Linked DNA regions of Homo sapiens: regions 1 and 2 are each linked to region 3. The links are contacts of gene promoters, found by promoter capture Hi-C in blood cells and fetal thymus (Javierre and others, 2016). All regions are on one chromosome and are shown on one strand. The core of a region is centred on a gene start or on the middle of the fragment in contact, and the rest is flanking DNA. Distances in the headings are between cores, read along the strand shown.

Evidence for each region. Contacts are between HindIII fragments. The CHiCAGO score rates a contact against its expected background, and 5 or more counts as called.
Region 1: a fragment that was not itself captured here is called in contact with the fragment with the promoter of PEX26 in region 3 in 1 of 17 cell types (total B cells); the score reaches 5.2 in total B cells.
Region 2: a contact is called between a fragment that was not itself captured here and the fragment with the promoter of PEX26 in region 3, in 2 of 17 cell types (total B cells and naive B cells). The highest score is 9.7, in total B cells.

What each region holds. Positions count from the first base shown.
Region 1 is chr22:17,971,030-17,974,461 of GRCh38, reverse strand. All of the region lies in intron 1 of MICAL3 (microtubule associated monooxygenase, calponin and LIM domain containing 3), which reads left to right. Among named protein-coding and RNA genes, the nearest start is that of MIR648, 8.2 kb to the left of the region's middle. RefSeq lists an enhancer at 315-867. The HindIII fragment of the contact is 8,182 bases long and covers 1-3,432 here.
Region 2 is chr22:17,993,480-17,996,834 of GRCh38, reverse strand. The region is part of intron 1 of MICAL3 (microtubule associated monooxygenase, calponin and LIM domain containing 3); the gene reads left to right. Among named protein-coding and RNA genes, the nearest start is that of MIR648, 14 kb to the right of the region's middle. RefSeq lists enhancers at 195-394, 1,986-2,486, 2,487-2,987. The HindIII fragment of the contact is 7,510 bases long and covers 1-3,355 here.
Region 3 is chr22:18,076,482-18,079,893 of GRCh38, reverse strand. PEX26 (peroxisomal biogenesis factor 26) reads right to left here and starts at 1,904. Exons shown (of 5, transcript NM_001127649.3): 1 at 1,288-1,904; 2 at 1-20. The coding sequence starts at 1,517. LOC105372853 (a long non-coding RNA gene) reads right to left here. Exons shown (of 6, transcript XR_001755424.2): 6 at 1,998-2,236. RefSeq lists enhancers at 1,081-1,130, 1,611-1,840, 2,171-2,230 and a silencer at 1,491-1,540. The HindIII fragment of the contact is 13,258 bases long and covers 1-3,025 here.

The sequences.
Region 1 (3,432 bases), core at 634-3,133, 110 kb after region 3:
GGGATTATAGGCGTGAGCCACCACACCTGGCCTCACACAGCTCTTATAAATGTATCAGGTTTGAGTAAAACATGAAATGTGGAAATAGCAGCAGTACTAGTAATTCCCGTTTATTGAGCAACTTCTGTGTGCCAGGCCATGCAGCATAGGCTCTGCTGTACATACCATCACTTACTTCTCACAGCAGTCCCCTGAAGCCTGTTTTATCAGCACTGTTGAGGGCCAGGCCCAGGGCAGACAGCAGGGTGGTGGAGCTGGTCTTCCTCACAAAGCCCTAGGGAGCTGGGCTTTGCTCTTGACTGCCTCGTCACTTTCCTTACCTGTGTTCACCCTGGGAGCCAGAGTAACAGGAAAGTCATTCTTTGCCCTGAGCCTGGAATTTTGGCAGCTCACATAAACCATGGCCCAGAGGGAAGTATGATTTCCAGGATATAAACCATTTTTGGGTGAGTCTTCAGTCTTTTCTGTTGTGATAAATAGGAGGAGGAGCTCAGGGGACTTGTTTTTTATTTATGTATCTTAAACATTTTTAAATTTAATCTCTTTTGAGACAGCATCTCACTGTGTTGCTGGAGTGCAGTGGTGCGACCACAGCTTACTGCAGCCTCGACCTCCCAGGTGCAAATGATCCTCCCACCTCAGCCTCCCCAGTAGCTGGGACCACAAGTGCGTGCCACCATGCCTGGCTAATTTTTTGTAGAGACGGCGTCTCACCGTGTTGCCCAGGCTGGTGTCAAACTCCCGGGCTCAACTCATCTTCCTGCCTCGACCTTCCAAAGTGCAGGGATTTCAGGTGTGAGCCATCGCACTTGGCCAGCCTGTCTTTTCGAAAGGGCCCATGATTTGCCTGCGTCTAAGCCTGGCTCTGATTGGTCTCCCTTCTGCACACAGCAGACACCCAAACTCTGAACTGCCACCCCGGTTCCACAGTGGGGCTGGAAGGGGTCGGTTGTGGCCATCAGCTTCACACCCTGTGCTGCTTCCACTATCATGACCTATGTGTGGCTCCGTCCTGGGCCTCATGATGATCAAGCCGGTGTCCCAGGCCCTGTTGGGAAGGATCATATGCTCAGTTACATACCCTACAGAAGTAAGTCTCTTATCAGATTTCAGACTGGTAGAAAGTTTCTCCCATTTGGTAAGCCGTCTTTTCTGATGTCCTTTGAACTACAACATTCCCTCCCCAGGCTCCCCCCACCTTTGTTTTCCCCATGGTGAGGCTTGGCAAGTGTTGATGCCACAGGGCATGAGTGAAGAGGGTGGTAGCAGCGCCTCTGTCTGCATGCACACACCTCTCTTCTCCCTTTTCCCCCCATCTGGGTGGTGAAGGAGGCTTACTCACCCCACAGAAGAGTCAGAAGTAAAGACCCACAGCAAGTAGGCTCGGAGTCACAGGATGCTCCTTAAAGAACTGAGAACTATTGGGCATGGCTGAGGGCCCCTTGTAGCCAGAGGTGGGCAGCCCACGTGGGCCCGGCTGGGCAAGGCGCAACATGCCTGACGTGCAGGGGCCTGAGGGCAGGTCTGGGTGGGCATTGTAGGGGCTGCAGGCGCTTGGGGGCTGGCAGTGCCAAAGGCTACTTAAGCTGACGGGTCAGGTTACAGTTGCTGTGGGAACTGTGACCTTTGAATTTCCTGGCTTATGCATGGAATTTCAGTTGCACAATACTACAACAATTTGGATTATTTTTCCTCCCTTTCCTCTCCCTCCTTGGCACTTAATTTTTTATCCCAGTGAATGAGATCCATAGCTCTCTGCCCTTGCCCTTTTTCCTGGGGCAGACAGTCTTACTCACCTTCCTTCTCCTGCTGCCCCAAAGTGTGCCTGCCAGGAGACCAGCCCCGGACCCTGACCTGTGGGAATCTTCCTTCTGCCTCCAAGGCCCTGAAGATGGGGGTGAGCTGCCCGGGATGGGCTGTTGTGTGTTGTAGGCGGGCTCAACCTTTCTGTGTGCTTACCCCTCCCCGATGTGCCTTGCTGTCCCTACTCCCGTACGTCCGTTCACCTGTTGCGTGTGCCTGGTCCACCCTCCCAGGTAGCTTAGCCTGGTTCGCTCCAGATTTCAGTTTCTACTTGGAGTCCCACCCTCTTTGGGAAACCCGTTGTCACCACCTTACCTGGGAATTATTTCCCCTTCCAGTGGACCATGTGACTTGAACATTTCATCTGGTGTTTAATCAGATACTGCCTCAGGATATATATTTTCTTGTCTCAAGATTTTTTTGTTTTTTGTTTGAGATGGGATGGTCTGGTTCCTTTTTTCTACAAACCAAATTATAAAATTTGAGGGCCAAGATTTTAACAGTACCTTGCTTATTAAATAGCCACTGGTTTGTAACTGATTTGCTGAACTGAGCATGTGTTCTTAGTGTTTGCCTTGAGGAGCGCACTGGGCTTGGGAACAATGAAAGATGTAGGAAAAAGCAAGGTCCTTGCATCCAGATTCGTTAAGAGGCCTTGCCTGGCCTTGTGTGGAGTGGCCTGCCTGCCTTGCCATCCTCCTCTTCCTCTCTCACTGAGCCCTGAGCCCACTGGCCGGTGGTCCTGGAAGGCCATGTGCATTGTCGCCTGTGCCGGTGCACGTGTGCTGCTTCTGCCCCTGGAGCAAGCTCCTCCTTTCCCTGGGCATCCTCCCTCCCGGGTCGGGCTGGATACCTCTTCATTACCACCTGAAGGGCCAGGGGGCCCCTTCCGATGTTCTGTCTTAGGTTCTGCTGTTCTTTTTCTCACAGTGTGTAAGTATGGATGTATCTATATATTGACGTTTTTACACCGATGGCTGTGTCCACCACTGTCCTTCCATCTCTGGGGCACAGGAGACATAGGAGTTCTGTTCACATTCTGTGCTTAGCCCCAACACAGTGTCTGGTGCCTGTGTATGCTAGATGAATGCTAGATGTATGCTAGATGAATGCTAGATGAATGCTAGATGAATGCAGTCAATGCTAGATGAATGATGAGGTTTTTTGTTTGTTTGTTTTGACATGGAGTCTTGCACTGTCGCCCAGGCTGGAGTGCAATGGTGCGATAGCTCACTGCAACCTCCGCCTCCCGGGTTCAAGCGATTCTCCTGCTGAGGCTGAGGAGGCCTCAGCCTCCCAAGTAGCTGGGATTACAGACACACAACACCATGCCCAGCTAATTTTTTGTATTTTAGTAGAGATGGGGTTTCACCATGTTGGCCAGGCTGGTCTCAAACTCCTGACCTCAAGTGATCTGCCTGCCTCAGTCTCCCAAAGTGCTGGGATTGAAGGCATGAGCGCCCAGCCCCCCCCTTTTTTTCTGACACGGGGTCTTGCTCTGTTGCCCAAGCTGGAGTGCAGTGGTGCAATCTCAGCTCACTGCGACCTCCGCCTCTGGGGCTCAAGTGGTCTTCCCACCTCAGCCACCTGAGTAGCTGGGACTTACAGGCATATGTCACTGTGCCCAGC
Region 2 (3,355 bases), core at 856-3,355, 83 kb after region 3:
GAAAATCTGATTCCTTTTTGGTCTTTAGCTTCCGGTGTACTTCAATGCAGTACATTGTGGGCGTGGTGGGGATGTGGTTCAGAAATTTACCTAAACTCTGTGGACTTCCCCCTCTCTCCAGCCACGCACTCTGTCATCTTTGGTTCCAGTCTTTAGAATTCAGCTCGGATCCCCTGGGTGATGGGTGGTGTCAGACACTCAGGTGCTTGGATTGCCCCGGTGGAGAGAACAGCATCCTGCCCCCATGGGCTTCAGTTGTACGTGACTTGCTGTTTTCTTGGAGGTGGGCTTTAGTCATCTCTAGCTATAAAGACACAAAAAAACTGGGAAGAATGACCAGGAAACTGTCACCCCAAGCCTTGCAGTTGATTGCATTTTTTTTTTTTTTTCTGAGATGGAGTCTTGCTCTGTGGGCCAGGCTGGAGTGCAGTGGCACGACCTCGGCTCACTGCAAGCTCCGCCTCCCGGGTTCACACCATTCTCCTGCCTCAGCCTCCCGAGTAGCTGGGACTACAGGCACCTGCCACCATGCCCGGCTAATTTTCTGTATTTTTTTTTTAGTAGAGACAAGGTTTCACCGTGTTAGCCAGGATGGTCTCGATCTCCTGACCTTGTGATCCACTGGCCTCGGCCTCCCAAAGTGTTGGGATTACAGGTGTGAGCCACTGTGCCCAGCCTTTTTTTTTTTTTTTTTTTTTTTAAATTGAGACAGCATCTCACTCTGCCACCTAGGCTGGAGTGCAGTGGTGCGATCATGGTTCACTGCAACCTTGACTGCCTGAGTAGTTGAGACTACAGGCGTGCACCACCAAGCCTGGCTAATTTTTAAAATTTTTTGTAGAGATGGGGTTTTGCCACATTGTCCAGGCTGGTCTAGAGCTCCTGGGCTCGAACAATTTGCCTGCCTCAGCCTCTCAAAGTGCTGGGATTACAGGTGTGAGCCACCATGCCTGGCCCCATTGACTTTTTCTCATTGGTGAGTTCAACAGAGGAGAGATGATTGCCGCAGTTTTAAAAAAGAAAAGAGGCCAGGTGTGGTGGGTCATGCCTGTAATCCCAGCCCTTTGAGAGGCCGAGGTGGGCAGATCACCTGAGGTGAGGAGTTCCAGACCAGCCTGGCCAACATGGTGAAACTCTGTCTCTACAAAAAAAATACAAAAAATAGCCAGGTGTGGGTGTTGCACACTTGTATTCCCAGCTACTCAGGAGGATGAGGTAGGTGGATCATTTGAGCCTGGGAGGCCAAGGCTGCAGTGAGCGGAGATCGCACCACTGCATTCCAGCCTTGGTGATAGAGCAAGACCCTACTGTCCCAAAAAAAAAAAAAAAAAAAAAAAAAAAAATTAAAGAAAAGGCTGGGTGCAATGTCTCACGTCTGTAATCCCAGCACTTTGAGAGGCTGGGCCAAGGTAGGAGTATTGCTTGAGGCCAGGAGTTTGAGACCAGCCTGCGCAACATAGTGAGACCCTGTCTCTACAAAAATTTTAAAAATTAGCCGGGCATGGTGGTGTACACCTATAGTCGCAGCTGCTCAGAAGGCTGAGGTGGGAGGATCACTTGAGGCCAGGAGTTTGAGGCTGCAGTGAGCTATAATCACACCACTGCATTCCAGTCTGGGTGACAGAGTGAGACCCTGTCTCTTAAAAGAAAAAGGGAGGACAGAAATCAGATTAAAGAAGAGAGAAGAAGTGAGACTGTTGGCTTATACCTTGATGAAAGGTGGAAGCGGAAGGGCAAGAGCTTCTGCTAAGTAGTGAGGACCTTGGCAAGGACAACAGTATCTTTTTCGTGTTCTGTTAGGCCGTGTCTCTCTAGCGCCCAGCTCAGAGTGCATGTGTGTTATGTGTGAGGGAATCTAGTGAGGAGTCTTCCTGCATTAGGCACGTCTGCAGGTGTCTGTTGAATTGTATATCTGTTGAAGGATTCAGTCTGGTTAACTCTGGCAGGAGATTCGGTCTGGTTAACTCTGGCAGGAGAGGGATGGACAGCACAGCCTTGTGGTTAACTAGTGGCTTTTATTGACTTTTCCTGTGTAAAGGCGAAATAAACCTTAGTGGGTCCCAGGCTTCTCTTCTCTCCTGCCCATGCTTCTTTTTTTTTCTTTTTTTTTTTTGAGACAGAGTCTTACTCTGTGGCCCCGGCTGGAGTGGCCCCAGCTGGAGTGGCATGATCTCGGCTCACTGCAGCCTTGACCTCCTGGGCCAGGCCATCCCCCAACCTCAGCCTCCTGAGTAGCTGGGACTACAGGCCCACACCACCACACCCGACTAATTTTTAAATTTTGTGGAGAGACAAGCTCTCTCTGTGTTGCCCAGTCTGGTCTTGAACTGCTGGGCTCAGGTGATCCCTGCAAAGTGCTGGGATTACAGGCACCCCACTGCACCCAGCCCTCTGTCTCTTTTCTGTTGCCAGTTGAAGTCTGGAGGTAGCATGGGTCCCGGGAGGCCAGTGCCAGTGTTGGAAGCCAAGAGAGGAGGAGCAGCTTGGTCAGGGGGAAGATGCAGAGTGCTCACTCCTGGCACCTGGAGCCCCCAGGGGAATGGCAGCTACCCTTTAGCGTGGACTGTCCCCAGCCCACAGAAAGTCAGCTTACAGAGGTTCTAGCCATATTCCTCCCTCCTCCACCAACAAAGCTCCTTGTTGTGGCTGAGAATTGTCAGGCTGTGATGGGACAGGGACAGGGGTGGGAGAGCAGCACCTGGCGCTGATGAGCACAGCAGCGATGGCAGCATCAGAGATGCTTAGAGACTGTTGGCCATGCCACACTGTCCTGAGTGCCCACGTGTCTTAACGCGCTCAGTCCTCACCACAGCGGACAGACGGGGTGCTGTTATGATCCCTGCTTTTCACACTAGGAAGTGGGGCACAGAGGGCTAAAACAAGTGGTGGCGTCAGGATTTAGATGAAGGCATTGGGTTTTGGACTTGTGGTGTCACAGACCAGTTGAGGGCAACTGACTTGGGCATATTCCACGGGGTTACCTCCGTCCTGGGGGGTCACCGCTTCCTGTCTTCAGACCCCTCCTCCATATTTCCCTCTCTTCACTCTTGAGTTCTCTCTCTGAAGTGCCAGGAGAGGTGCATTGAGGTTAGTTGGCATATTCCTTGAAATATTCCTGGCCTGCTTCTCAGGGGGCAGAGTCAGGAGGTAATTCTGAAGCACTGGGAGGAGAGTGTGGGCGCAGGGGGGCTTCCCGGGGGGCACTTAAGACACTGTGTGTTCAGGAACCTGGGGGCTGTGCCTTGGGAATCCAGAGAGTGCTGAGGGCTGCCCTGCTCCTGGAAAAGATGAAGAAGCCCTTCTCTTCCTTCTGATTCCCAAGTTGTGGAACCCAAGCAGATCCATTATTGCCCCA
Region 3 (3,412 bases), core at 655-3,154:
AGCACTTCACCTCCAATGAGCTGTCAGCAGAAAAACCAATTTCAGTTAGAAGTGGTTCCCCTCCATTTCCATTCCCACCTCCACCTTGGGACTGTTCCTCTCCAGCTCCCAACTCAGCAGCCATCATCTCTCTCATCCCTGTTAGTATTTAGATGGGCTTCACAATTGGTCTCATGGGCTGCCCTTTCCCCCAGGAACTAAAAGTTCCTGTAACCCTCTTTCAAGAGGCAAGTCAGCTGTTGCTCAACGTTCATCTTTGTATCCAGGTGAAATCAGATTTAAATGAAGAGGAAGGGTAATCCTGAGGGGGAAATAACACACAGCACCGGTGTGTGGCTGAAAAGAGAGCTGGAACTAAGAGTTTGCTCTGTGAACAAATGGGCTTGGAGCAAGGTTTCTGGCTGAGTGGAGGTATAGACTCCATAGCTGGCTAAAAGGCACCACCTAGTAAGGTTCCTCCAGACACCCAGAAGCAAAGCCTTCTGCATTCACTGAAATGAGCTCCCACCCAGTCCCCTAAAACACAGCCAGGGCTCTCCAGATCATCCTTCTTTGTGGTCAACTTTAGCTATTCTACCTACCACCTCCCTAGCGTGGCCTAACCCAAGTTTACAATGCAAAGAAATGACTCCCTCACCTGCCAGACGAGGCTGGTGGCATTAGAAAGAGCAATGCAAGCCCAAGGTTTTTTTCTCCGGATTCTTTTCTTTTTCTTCTTTTTGGTAGAGAAGAGGGCTCATTATGTTACCCAGGCTGGTCTCGAACTCCTGGGCTCAAGCAATCCTCCTGCCTCGGCCTCCCAAAGTGCTGGGATTACAGGCGTAAGCCCCAGCTCCCGGCCCTGAATTAATTCTTTAATCCAGTCCTCTAATTGGACCAGAACGCTGCTCCTGCCATGACCCCCATTCCCCATCATCAGCCAAGGTCAGGAATAAACAACCTTGGGCGGGGCGGGGAGGGCGGAGGTACCTGGGAGAGGACTTTTACCACCTGCTTACTGACAGAACTTAGCACTTAATACACATTCAGCCTTCCCATCATGTCATTGTACCTTGGAACAAGGAGCAAATAATTGGCTGTGGGATCCCCACTAAGTTTTTGTTACACGACTTCCCTTCTCTGTAGAATGGGCACACGATGAGCGACCACCCTCTCGGAGACAAACCACTGATGAAAGCGAGGTGTAAAGCTCCTTGTGGGCAATCTGGGAAGGACAGAACTCCTGAGACCTTGAGCCCCACCACAAGAGCGCCCGGAAATCGGTTCATTTCCGAGCCCAGCACGTACGTGCCCGCGGGTTCCTCTGCCACGGCGTGGTTGGCCAGACTCTGCCAGGCCCGCTCGCAGGTCTCCAGCGCCGCCCGGAAGTCCAGGTGCACCACCAGGAGGTCGGCCGCCTCCTCCAGAAGGTCCACGGCCGGCGCCCGGGCCGGGACCGCGCGCACCGGCTCGCTGCTGCGCAGGGGTCCCCCGAGCCCCCTGAGGGGGGCTGCAGAGGTCGAAGAATCGCTCTTCATAACGAGTCCGGGTCCAAGGCCCAGGTCCTCAGACGTCGGAGTGACCGCCTCCCCAGAGGCTCCGGGATATCCCGAGTTGGCCTGGGCGAAGAGGGAGAGTCCTCATCTCTTTGCCCACACCCCTTCCCGAGGTCGATTCCCCGAGAAGGAAAAGGAAGGGGCCTATCTGAGGCAAAAGCTGGGCTCGCCTGGAGGCTGGGGAAGCAGTTTACACGTCAGATTTGCAGGATTCTTGCATCCCTGGAATACCTGGCCCTAGCTTCTCCGGCCCCGCGACACGTGCAGGAACTGCCTCAGCTCCGGGCTCCTGGTTACGATCAAAGACTCACCTCGCCTCCCGGCAGCGGGCGCGGACATCTTTGCGCTCGCCCAGCCCCGCAGCCGCGCGGCGTCCCGGCGGCGCGGAGTACTCTAGGAGTTGTAGTTCCTCAGCTCTCGGCCCATCGCCTTCTGTAATGGAAGTAGGAGGCAGAGCGCGGACTACAACCCCCAGCACGCCGCGCCCCGGAAGCCGCCCCTGTGCCGTGAGAAAACAAACTGGTGCTACAGCTTCGGGGTGCGGAAGTCAAAACGAAGCAAAACCGAAGCTGTCTTGTGAAATGGAGGGGTCCTCACTAACCAGTTCCAGCGGAGGCTAACGGAAGAAGTGCCAGCAATGGATGTGCAGCTACATGCACGCTTTTAATTCAGAGCTTCTGCGACGGTGGCGATCAGGGGATCTGTAATGTAATGTAATGTCAAGGCTGACGCAGAGCTGATCAAACATTTTGGCAACCTTAGTCTTGAATTGATTCACACTTTCTCCGCGTTGCCTCCGGAGTTTGCTGTAGGGTAATGAATATTGCCTGGTGAGGATGAGGGACTTAGGGTGGAAACCTTCACAAGGACCACTGAGAATATGTTGGTCCCAAGGGCAATGTTCCAAAATGAATAGTGACCCCACCGAGGCGGGGTTGGGGGCGCTGAGCATAAGGGCCTCATTTTTCTCACTGCTCTCTGCCCCATCCTGAATTTGCTGTTAAAAAACAACGTTAAATGCAGATACCAATTCCACTTCCCCACTGTTGTCACTTCCGATCTGTCTTTATATTTCTCCTTATCATTTATCACCATCTACATACCAATGTCTATATTTTACTTATTTTTATTGTCTATTTCCTTCCACTATGATATAAACTCACAAAGGCAGACGTTTTTGTCTCTTTTGTTCACTGTGGGAACCTCAATGCCTTGAACAGTGCCTGTCATCTATAGGTAGTCAAAAAGTATTTGTGGAATAAATGAAGTCCTGGTTTCACTTTTATCTGGTTACAGGGTCCAGACTTCTCTTTCCTCGGAGTCTGGTGGACTTGGTTCTGCCTCAGCTTCCCATGCAGACTTTTCTGCAAGAGAACGGAAATCCCAGAAGATGGATGTGTGCATGTCTGGTGACAAGGGCAGGGGATGTATGATGTGAGCAGGTGCCTGTTTAATCTAATTTCTAGGAGAGCAAAGATTCTAGGGAAGCTTTGGAGTGAATTCAAAGGGTAGAGAACTGGGGAGAAACTAAAGCCAAGAGGATCTAGTACAAATGTGGGAAGCTTGGCAAAGCCCGGGTGAAACAGAATATAATAATAAGTGTGATTTGTGGATCTGTTTAAAATTATTATTATAGTTACAATTTACCAAATACTCTGTTCCCAGTACTTTACTATAAAGTGCATTATGTACGGTATGGTTTTGTTTTTCACAATGTCCTTATTTTACATTGTGTAACTTGCTCATGGAATGACTGTGTATCCCCTGAATAGCAAACATACTTAGTTCTGTCCCTGCAGAGCAGAGTAGAGCTCAATACACATCTTTGAACCAAAAGAGCCTCGGTTTGACTGAGATTTTGTCGCTTACTAGTTGTG